3 separate regions of the Homo sapiens genome follow, and all the other regions are linked to region 1. Evidence: promoter capture Hi-C in 16 types of primary human blood cells and fetal thymus (Javierre and others, 2016). All regions are on one chromosome and are shown on one strand. Each heading gives the region's core, a stretch centred on a gene start or on the middle of the fragment in contact. The rest is flanking DNA. Distances are from core to core; before and after follow the strand shown. Region 1 holds the start of NEUROD4 (neuronal differentiation 4). Region 2 has its middle 16 kb from the start of MUCL1. Region 3 has its middle 77 kb from the start of MUCL1.

Region 1 (2,816 bases), core at 137-2,636:
ACACATATCAGAATTAAAAATAACTATTTTCAAACTTAAGATACTCTTTTCAACTTTATGAGCAGTGAAACTATCTTTTGTTTCAGCCCTCTACAGTTTTCCTTGCACACAGGCATATTAATAGTTTTTCATTTCTGTTTGACGCATGTGCTAGTTATGTTGTTAGACCACGCGATTCTCAAAAAGCTGGGGATACTCTGGTTTCTTTTCAGATTGTATAAATGTTTTGCCTTTTGCCAAAACGCCTGAGGAATTATCCTTCAAGTCAATTTCTAAAAGAAGTTGAACTTGGATTCGTAACTCTATCAGGCTACTGATGGAAAAACTCATTTTACAGATATGAAAACTGATGCCCAGAGTGAAGTTGACTTATTCAAGATCATTCAGCCAATTGCTTAATCTGAGCACCTTTCTTTTTCCTTCTTGGAAACACAAGATGATTAGAAAATCTTTGGTATCTTAAGTTCACAATCATTTATTTTTCCTTGGTGTAGTTTTAAATAAGATAGTATGAATATCTATATACTTAAATTATTCCAGATGTAGTTTTCTTTCTGTCTTCTAGCAATTTAATTCAACCTCCTAATACCAAAGGAGTTTTAGGAATTATTATGAGCCTTCTCTTCTTCTAAGCTTATTACTACTCAGGTGGACTTTTTCTACGTGAATGCTTAATGATGTATTTTTGAAAAACAATAGTAGATCTCAGTTTGTAACTCAAGGAACTAACTGCCCTTAAAATGAAGGATTTTATTAATTTCCTTTTTGTTTTTATAAATTTAAAGTGATCAGAAAGTTGAAAGAATAGCACAACAAATATAGCTTCACCTAAATTCACAAATTAAAAGTTTTAATGAGAGTAGCTTTGACGTGCTGAAAAGGTGGGAGAGACATACTTCTTCCTTCTACTTTTAGAACGCTGAAGTTTATAAGCCAAAGACCCCAGTCCACATGTGTAAGGAAGCAGCCACTGATGCTGTGTCCTTGACACGCATCTTTCTCACCTTTTGATTCTTTTCAGACGTGGGTCAGCAGCGTCATCTGCCCTTTTTAGCTCTCTCTCCAAGTCTATCCCCAATTTTCTTTCTCCATTCTGTCCACACTACTCCGCTCCCATTTCTTATCTTTTTAATCACAAAGGTTTCCAGTCCTCTTTTTCTTTACTCCTTAACTTCAGCAACTCTCCTCCCCTGCTCCCCTTCCACCAACCCCCATCTCTATTTAAACAAACAAACGGGCGGCAAAACTGGACCTGGCCGGAGGAGCCTTTCAAGTGGGCGTGTCTTTCGGCTGGGGAAAAGGGAGGAGTTAGACTCTGGGCAACATCACTCCTCCCTGGTCAGCTGGGAGAGCAATCAAAACTGCAGCAAGTCAGAGGCTCCGGCCAGAGAGCAGGAGCTGCCCAGAGGCTTGTGGTCCTGAAAGCTCCTCTCCGGGGAGCTAACCAGGGAGAGGAGGTACTGAAGAGCGACTAAACTGGCTGCAGCGGAGAGATCAGCCCGAAGGCGTCCTTGAGGAGCATACGGAACTCCAAGGAAGGAGTAGAATAAGGAGCAGGCAGAGAAACCAGACCCGGTGGAATCTCTAAGAGGTAACAACCGGGTTTGACATGGATCGCTGAAAGCGTCTCTTCTACCATCTGGATGGTCAGGGAGACTTGGCTTCTCTGACTGTCCTCTAAGACGCAGATTCACAGAGTTCACTCCAGGAACGGCCAGTGACCGAGGTGAGCCAGTGGTTGGGGTGGTAAGGGGGCTAAAGTTTCTGTGGGAAGTTCCCACTCACCTAGAGGAGCAGTTGGGGTGAGGAAAGTCTCTTCTGGGTAAGGCAGGAGGAAGTGAGATTTAGGAAACTTGGAATGTAGAAGCTAGTGAGTTGGAACACTTAGGGACAAATATAAACATTTTAAATAATTTTATTAAATTTTATAGCACTTGCCACCCAAAGTGAAACACATAGACACTCACAATCATTTTAATAAAGTGAAGAATACAGATGATCTCCCCCAATTCCTGTCAAAGCCACTCTTTCATTTTGTTAGTGGTGAAAATGTCGAAAAGTTTAACTGCTTTTCCAAGGTGGCCCAGCAAGTAGGTTGGAAGAATTGACCCAATCCACCACTCTGCTCACAGCATTTTAGGGCTATGCAAGGACGGAGGGGGAGGCAGGGAAAGGAAAACAGAATGAGGAATCAGAGAAGATTGTGGAAAATCCTCGGGGTAGATTCTCACCATTAACTATTTTGTTTACTAAAAATGCTTGAATAGTTGGCACAGGGTGGGGGAAATTTCCTTTTCCTCAGCTCTTTCAGATGGGAAATTAGAAGAAAAAGATTGTCCAAGTATATTTTTCCTTTCTCTGCTTCACACTCATCATTTGCCCGCAAAAAAAGTATACTCAGAAAATACTAATTAAATGTAAAATACCCACCCCCATTTTTTTGACAGAGGAAGCAGAGGTGAAATGCTGAAGAACATGCAGGGAAAAATAAGGGACTGAATAACTTCTGTTAACTATTAAGATCTGAGGCAATGGCACCTGAAGTATTACATGGCTTTGCTGGACAAAATGTGTGTGTATGTGCATGCATGTACATACATGTGCACATATATTAATAAAGGGGAAAATAGTAGAGTAGAAAAGAAGAGCATAGAGCAAACTACTGGCTTTTTCCAAGCAGTACAACTTGTGAACATCCTGATTTGGATTCTGTCTTTTTAGTGCCAAGACTGTGCAACTCTGGGAAAAGAATTTAGTCTATTTAGTTCTTAGATTTCCTAGAAACTGGGCTGGACAGCCCCCTTTCTGTTGTATTT
Region 2 (3,118 bases), core at 556-3,055, 150 kb before region 1:
ATCCTTCAAGTTGGGAAGATTCAAGACTTACCAGATTTATGTCTTTTTTGGAGGTGATGATAGGATGGTCCTCTAAAGAAGAAAAGAAGAAATTTATAGTTTTACAGTGTAACATATTTGGGAAACAGTGAGGGAAACATTAGGAGTATATGGTCTCTTCCCCAATGAATAGCCCCTTGCTGAAAAATAACTTGTATCAGTAGTTGTGGAGCAAGAGTAGGTTTACCTCAACCCAAACTTTGGTTCTTAAAATGTTTAATGTTATAGGCGTTTTACTCACATCAAGAAAATAATGACAAAAAAAAAAAGAAAATAATGACTACTTCCCTTCCTTACAAGGTATATTGAGATTGAGTACAATGGAATCTGTGCTACCCAGTATGCACAGTCATATGGAGAAATAAAGGACTTAACATCGGACTGACTGATGTGTAGACTTTATTTCTCTCAATCTAATCTGCTCTAGCTCTGTAGACAAGTGTCTGACCTATACTTTCCTTCCTATGCCATCAGGAAGGATTCAAATGCCCAGTTAAATTCAGTCCTCACAAAGGAAGTTTATTTGGATGGCTAACAATCCTTCTCCATTTAGACTCAATATAAGAAGGCTAAACTTGGATCTAAATTGTAAATCTGTCTTTGGCTTGAGGGTGGGCACAACACAAAGTATGTGGTTAGAGAGAATAATGAGACCAGTAACTGAAAGACATAATTAACATCAATCCACCCTCCTTCAATTAATTAAGTCTCCTTCAAATATGCTTGATTAAAAATTTTAAAATTCAATTTTGGGGTACTATTTGGACATATGGCTATTTACTAGGAGATTGTCATGCCCATTGATATCAGGAATGGCAAGGACTTCATGATAAAGTGTGGCAGGACAGCTCTACTGCTGAGGAAAAGGATAGAAACTGGGTTCCAGGCCCAGCTCACAGATTTGTTAACACTAGAGAAATACAGGTACTAGGAAGAAACTTTAGCTCTCATGTGCAATAGGATGGTTCAACCCGATAAGAATTGTTTGCAGAGAAACAACCATTTGAAGAACCAACAACTCAACCTGAGAGCTGAAGGCTAGAACACAGGTGTTTGGATTTGCGGTGAGCCCTACTTTTTGTCACCTGCTGGTCAGACTTCAACTTCGGTGGCTAGTCACTACCAAGCTGTGACTCCTTTAACTAAAATATTTGTGTGACAGCAGTCATATTAAACCTTTTTTTGAGGATATGACTTCTAGTGGAGAAATTACATGAGCTTGATATATCTTTTTTTCCACTGAGTTCTTTCTCCTCACCTGTCTTTAGTAAGCTTGTTATACTAATTAAGCCCTTTGACACCTTTCGCTTGCACCATTCACTAAGCATATAAGTATTCTCATATTTTTCCATTCTTAAAATAATTATTTTCTCTACATTTCACCTCATCTATCTACCAAATCATTTATTCTTTTTCCATTTGTAATAAACCTTTCACAGCGGTGAAGGAGTGTGGATGTGCTAAGTTGGCAATATTCAGTCAATAATTATAATAAGGATTGAAGAAGTCTTGGAAGTTTTATTATCTGGTGGGTGAAGTGAGAGTGAATGTCAGTTCATCTTCCTTAACAATTTCTGTCCCAATAACCTTAATGGAGTTGACTTGAATCAGAGAATTTGTAGTCTCACAGTTTGTGGAATACTGAAACACTGATATAGAAACTCCTGAAAGCAGCAGGATAAATATTTGAACAGAAGAGTGCTCATGTGAAGTTTGATCCAGCATGCCACTCAACATCAGGCTGCTCAGGAAATTAAGCAGTGCCTTACTGATATGAGCCAAAAAGTAACCAGTCATTTGCGTATGAAGGACAATAAAAAATAATCAAGTTATACTGTATGTATCCTACATTTTCAAAGTGTGGATTGCAACTTGGAGCCACTATTTCTTTTGTCCTCTTTCCCCCATCTCTGTTATGGACATGATAGTCTGTGGGAAAGATACATACACATACAAACATACATTCACACATCCTGAGATAGATGTGCTTGGTTTTTGGAATTTTATCCCAGTAAGAGAGGAAAACAGCAGATATTTTGTCTACACTTTGGCATTTTAAAGAGTGCTAAGGATTTTTCTAATTCTAAAGCTCTACCTTGTATATAAAGATAATTTTTTTTCCCTGTAGACCAGGAGTCAGCAAACTTTAAATGAGCAGACAGACTTTATGGGGGCATATATTCTGTCGGAACTAGTCAACATCGCTATTGTAGTGCAGCTGTAGACAATAGGTAAACAGATGGGTGTGACTACGTTCCAATGAAGCTTCCTTTACAAACAGGTGGTGGCCCAATAGTCCTGTGACTCATCTTTTGATGATTCCCTTAGACTCAAGCTGAACAGTTTTCCATTTTAGAATACTTGACTATGTGCTAGTTTAGTATATCTTCCGTTTATCTCTAAGCCAGTCTTTCTAACCTTAGGCCAAACTCTTGAATTTATTTAATTACGTTAATGATGGTTAAGAAGATGATGACATCTACTAGTTATGGAGATCCAGAAATATTTTAGGTTCTTTTTATATGTATAGTCAATTATCAATATTTGCAGGAGTTATGTTCTAAAAAGTCTCCACAAACTCTGAATTTGTGCCTAATGAACCATTGTTCTTAGCATAGTAAAGGGTTATATTCCTGAAAGCCTCTGGCACATTTTTGTCAACTGATCAAAGCAAAACTTTATTAAAATAATGTGTGTTTCTGTTTTAAAGTTATTCTATTTAATATATATTCTGATTTATTAACATTGAACTCATGTCCAACAGCGTTATAATTCATGTCTCAATGATGTTTATCTAACCCACATATTTTTTCCCTATGGCACATCACAGTGTTTTTGTACTTTGGAACACTGGACAGCACTTCAGTACTATGCTTGCAAGACATTTTAAACAGTGAAATCATCAAGAAAATTAATAAAAATATGAAAACATGGCACTGAGTAGATCACTCACTAACAAAACTTTACAGTATGAGAACTGAAACAAGGAGGCAGAGCATTGCCTTGTTCATCCTCAGCTGGAAACATGCACATCGGTGACAAAGTTTTCACCAGCTCTGCATGTCCATAAAGGACCATG
Region 3 (3,156 bases), core at 644-3,143, 240 kb before region 1:
ACAAGGTTTGGGTTGGAGGGCTTGTATTAACTAAACTTGATGGCATGTGGGCCTCAGCATTTCCCATAATTGATTGAGCAATTACTTGGAAGGTCTGGATTGCAGACCAATGAAAGCACCCAGACCAATAGTAGTGATACCCACAGTTAACAAAATGGTGTACAGCTGCACTTGACAGTGTTTTTTCTTTTTCTTTCTTTTTTTTTTTTTGTGGTAGAGGTGGTGAGAATTTAGACTCAAATAGGTCCTGGGAAGACTACACACCTTTGAATTGGCCTCCAGCATTTATGGGATAGAGGCAAGATTAAACATTTATAAGTATGAGGAAGATATATTTAGGAGTCTCACGTGTAATGAATATTTATATATGTGAAGGGGAGATATATCCCCCCTTTAAATGTAGGAAAGGGCAATGGGAAAGTTTTTAAAAAATTGGTGTGAGACGTGAGTCACTGAAACGTCCTTGATTTAAGGGAGATTAAGGCCTGGGGCAATATAGAGACACATTCCACGGTCCATTTTATGGGAAGAAATTTGAAAAAGGATTGTTTGAGGAGACTGTTATGTCTATCAATTAAACCAGCTGTCTGGTATCTATCAGGGACATGAAAATTCTACTGATGCCTTTATGAAAAAGAGCCTGGGGCAGTTCCAAGATGGCTAAATAGGAACAGCTCCAGTCTACAGCTCCCAGTGTGAGTGATGCAGAAGATGGGTGATTTCTGCATTTCCAGCTGAGGTACTGGGTTCATCTCACTGGAGCTTGTTGGACAATGGGTGCAGAACAGTGGGTGCAGCCCACCGACCATGAGCTGAAGCAGGCTGAGGCATTGCCTCACCCAGGAAGCACAAGGGGTCAGGGAATTCCCTTTCCTAGCCAAGGGAAGCTGTGACAGACCGCACCTGGAAAATTGGGTCACTCCCACCCTAATACTGCACTTTTCCAGTGGTCTTAGCAAAGGGCATACCAGGAGATTATATCCTGCACCTGGATCAGAGGGTCCCATGCCCACAGAACCTCACTCATTGTTCACAGAGCAGTCTGAGATCGAACTGCAAGTCTGCAGCAAGGCTGGGGGAGGGGTGCTCTTTATTGCTGAGGCTTGAGTAGGAAAACAAAGTGGCTGGGTAGCTCTAACTGGGTGGAGCCCACCACAGCTCAAGGAGGCCTGCCTGCCTCTGTAGACTCCACCTCTGGGGGCAGGGCATAGCCCAACAAAAGGCAGCAGAAACCTCTGCAGGCTTAAATGTCCCTGTCTGAAAGCTTTGAAGAGAGTAGTGGTTCTCCCAGCATGGAATCTGAGAACTGAGAATGGACAGACTGCCTCCACAAGTGGGTCCTTGACCCCCAAGTAGCCTAACTGGGAGGCACCCCCCAGTAGGGGCAGGCTGACACCTCACACGGCCGGGTACCCCTCTGAGATGAAGATTCCAGAGGAACGATCAGGCAGCAACATTTGCTGTTCAGCAATATTCACTGTTCTGCAGCCTCCACTGCTGATAAACAGGCAAACAGGGTCTGGAGTGGACCTCCAGCAAACTCCAACAGACCTGCAGCTAAGGGTCCTGACTGTTAGAAGGAAAACTAACAAACAGGACATCCACACCAAAACCACATCTGTACATCACCATCATCAAAGACCAAAGGTAGATAAAACCACAAAGATGGGGAAAAAGCAGAGCAGAAAAGCTGAAAATTCTAAAAATCAGAGCGCCCCTCCCCTTCAAAAGGAGTGCAGCTCCTCACCAGCAACAGAACAAAGCTGGATGGAGAATGGCTTTGATGAATTGAGAGAAGAAGGCTTCAGATGATCAAGCTTCTCCGAGCTAAAGGAGGAAGATCGAAACCATTGCAAAGAAGACAAAAACCTTGAAAAAAGATTAGACGAATGGCTAACTAGAATAACCAGTGTAGAGAAGTCCTTAAAAGAAGCTGAAAGCCATGGCATAAGAACTACGTGATGAATGCACAAGCTTCAGTAGCCAATTCAACCAACTAGAAGAAAGGGTATCAGTGATTGGAGATCAAATGAATGAAATGAAGTGAGAAGAGAAGTTTAGAGAAAGAAGAGTAAAAAGAAATGAACAAAGCCTCCAAGAAATATGGGACTATGGGAAAAGACCAAATCTATGCCTGATTGGTGTACCTGCAAGTGACAGGGAGAATGAAATCAAGTTGGAAAACACTCTGCAGGATATTACGCAGGAGAACTTCCCCTACCTAGCAAGGCAGGCCAACATTCAAATTCAGGAAATACAGAGAACACCACAAAGATACTCCTCGAGAAGAGCAACTCCAAGACACATAATTGTCAGATTCACTGAAGTTGAAATCAAGGAAAAAATGTTAACAGCAGCCAGAGAGAAAGGTTGGGTTACCCACAAGGGGAAGCCCATCAGACTAACAGCGGATCTCTCGGCAGAAACTCTGCAAGCCAGAAGAGAGTGGGGGCCAAAATTCAACATTCTTAAAGAAAAGAATTTTCAACCCAGAATTTCATATCCAGCCAAACTAAGCTTCATAAGTGAAGGAGAAATAAAATCCTTTACAGACAAGCAAATGCTGAGGGATTTTGTCATCACCAGGCTTGCCTTACAAGAGCTCCTGAAGGAAGCACTAAGCATGGAAAGGAACAACCGTTACCAGCCACTGCAAAAACTTACCAAATTGTAAAGGCCATCGAAACTAGGAAGAAATTGCATTAACTAATGAGCAAAATAACCAGCTAACATCATAATGACAGGATCAAATTCACACATAATATTAACCTTAAATGCAAATGGGCTAAATGCTCCAATTAAAAGACACAGACTGGCAAATTGGATAAAGAGTCAAGACCCATCAGTGTGCTGTATTCAGGAGACCCATCTCATGTGCAGAGACACACAGAGGCTCAAAATAAAGGGATGGAGGAAGATCTACCAAGCAAATGGAAAACAAAAAAAGGCAGGGGTTGCAATCCTAGTCTCTGAAAAAATAGACTTTAAACCAGCAAAGATCAAAAGAGACAAAGAAGGCCATTACATAATGGTAAAGGGATCAATGCAACAAGAAGAGCTAACTATCCTAAATATATATGCACCCAATACAGGAGCACCCAGATTCACAAAGCAAGTCCTTAAAGACTTACAAAGAGACTTAGACTCCCACACAAT

The links. The method cuts DNA at HindIII sites, captures the fragments that hold promoters and counts their contacts. A CHiCAGO score of 5 or more calls a contact.
Region 2: a fragment that was not itself captured here is called in contact with the fragment with the promoter of NEUROD4 in region 1 in 1 of 17 cell types (non-activated CD4 T cells); the score reaches 5.1 in non-activated CD4 T cells.
Region 3: a fragment that was not itself captured here is called in contact with the fragment with the promoter of NEUROD4 in region 1 in 2 of 17 cell types (activated CD4 T cells and naive CD4 T cells); the score reaches 8.1 in activated CD4 T cells.

The regions. Positions count from the first base shown.
Region 1 is chr12:55,018,588-55,021,403 of GRCh38, forward strand. NEUROD4 (neuronal differentiation 4) reads left to right here and starts at 1,387. Exons shown (of 2, transcript NM_021191.3): 1 at 1,387-1,726. The HindIII fragment of the contact is 8,784 bases long and covers 632-2,816 here.
Region 2 is chr12:54,868,504-54,871,621 of GRCh38, forward strand. No RefSeq gene overlaps it. Among named protein-coding and RNA genes, the nearest start is that of MUCL1, 16 kb to the left of the region's middle. The HindIII fragment of the contact is 993 bases long and covers 1,310-2,302 here.
Region 3 is chr12:54,776,119-54,779,274 of GRCh38, forward strand. No RefSeq gene overlaps it. Among named protein-coding and RNA genes, the nearest start is that of MUCL1, 77 kb to the right of the region's middle. The HindIII fragment of the contact is 157 bases long and covers 1,816-1,972 here.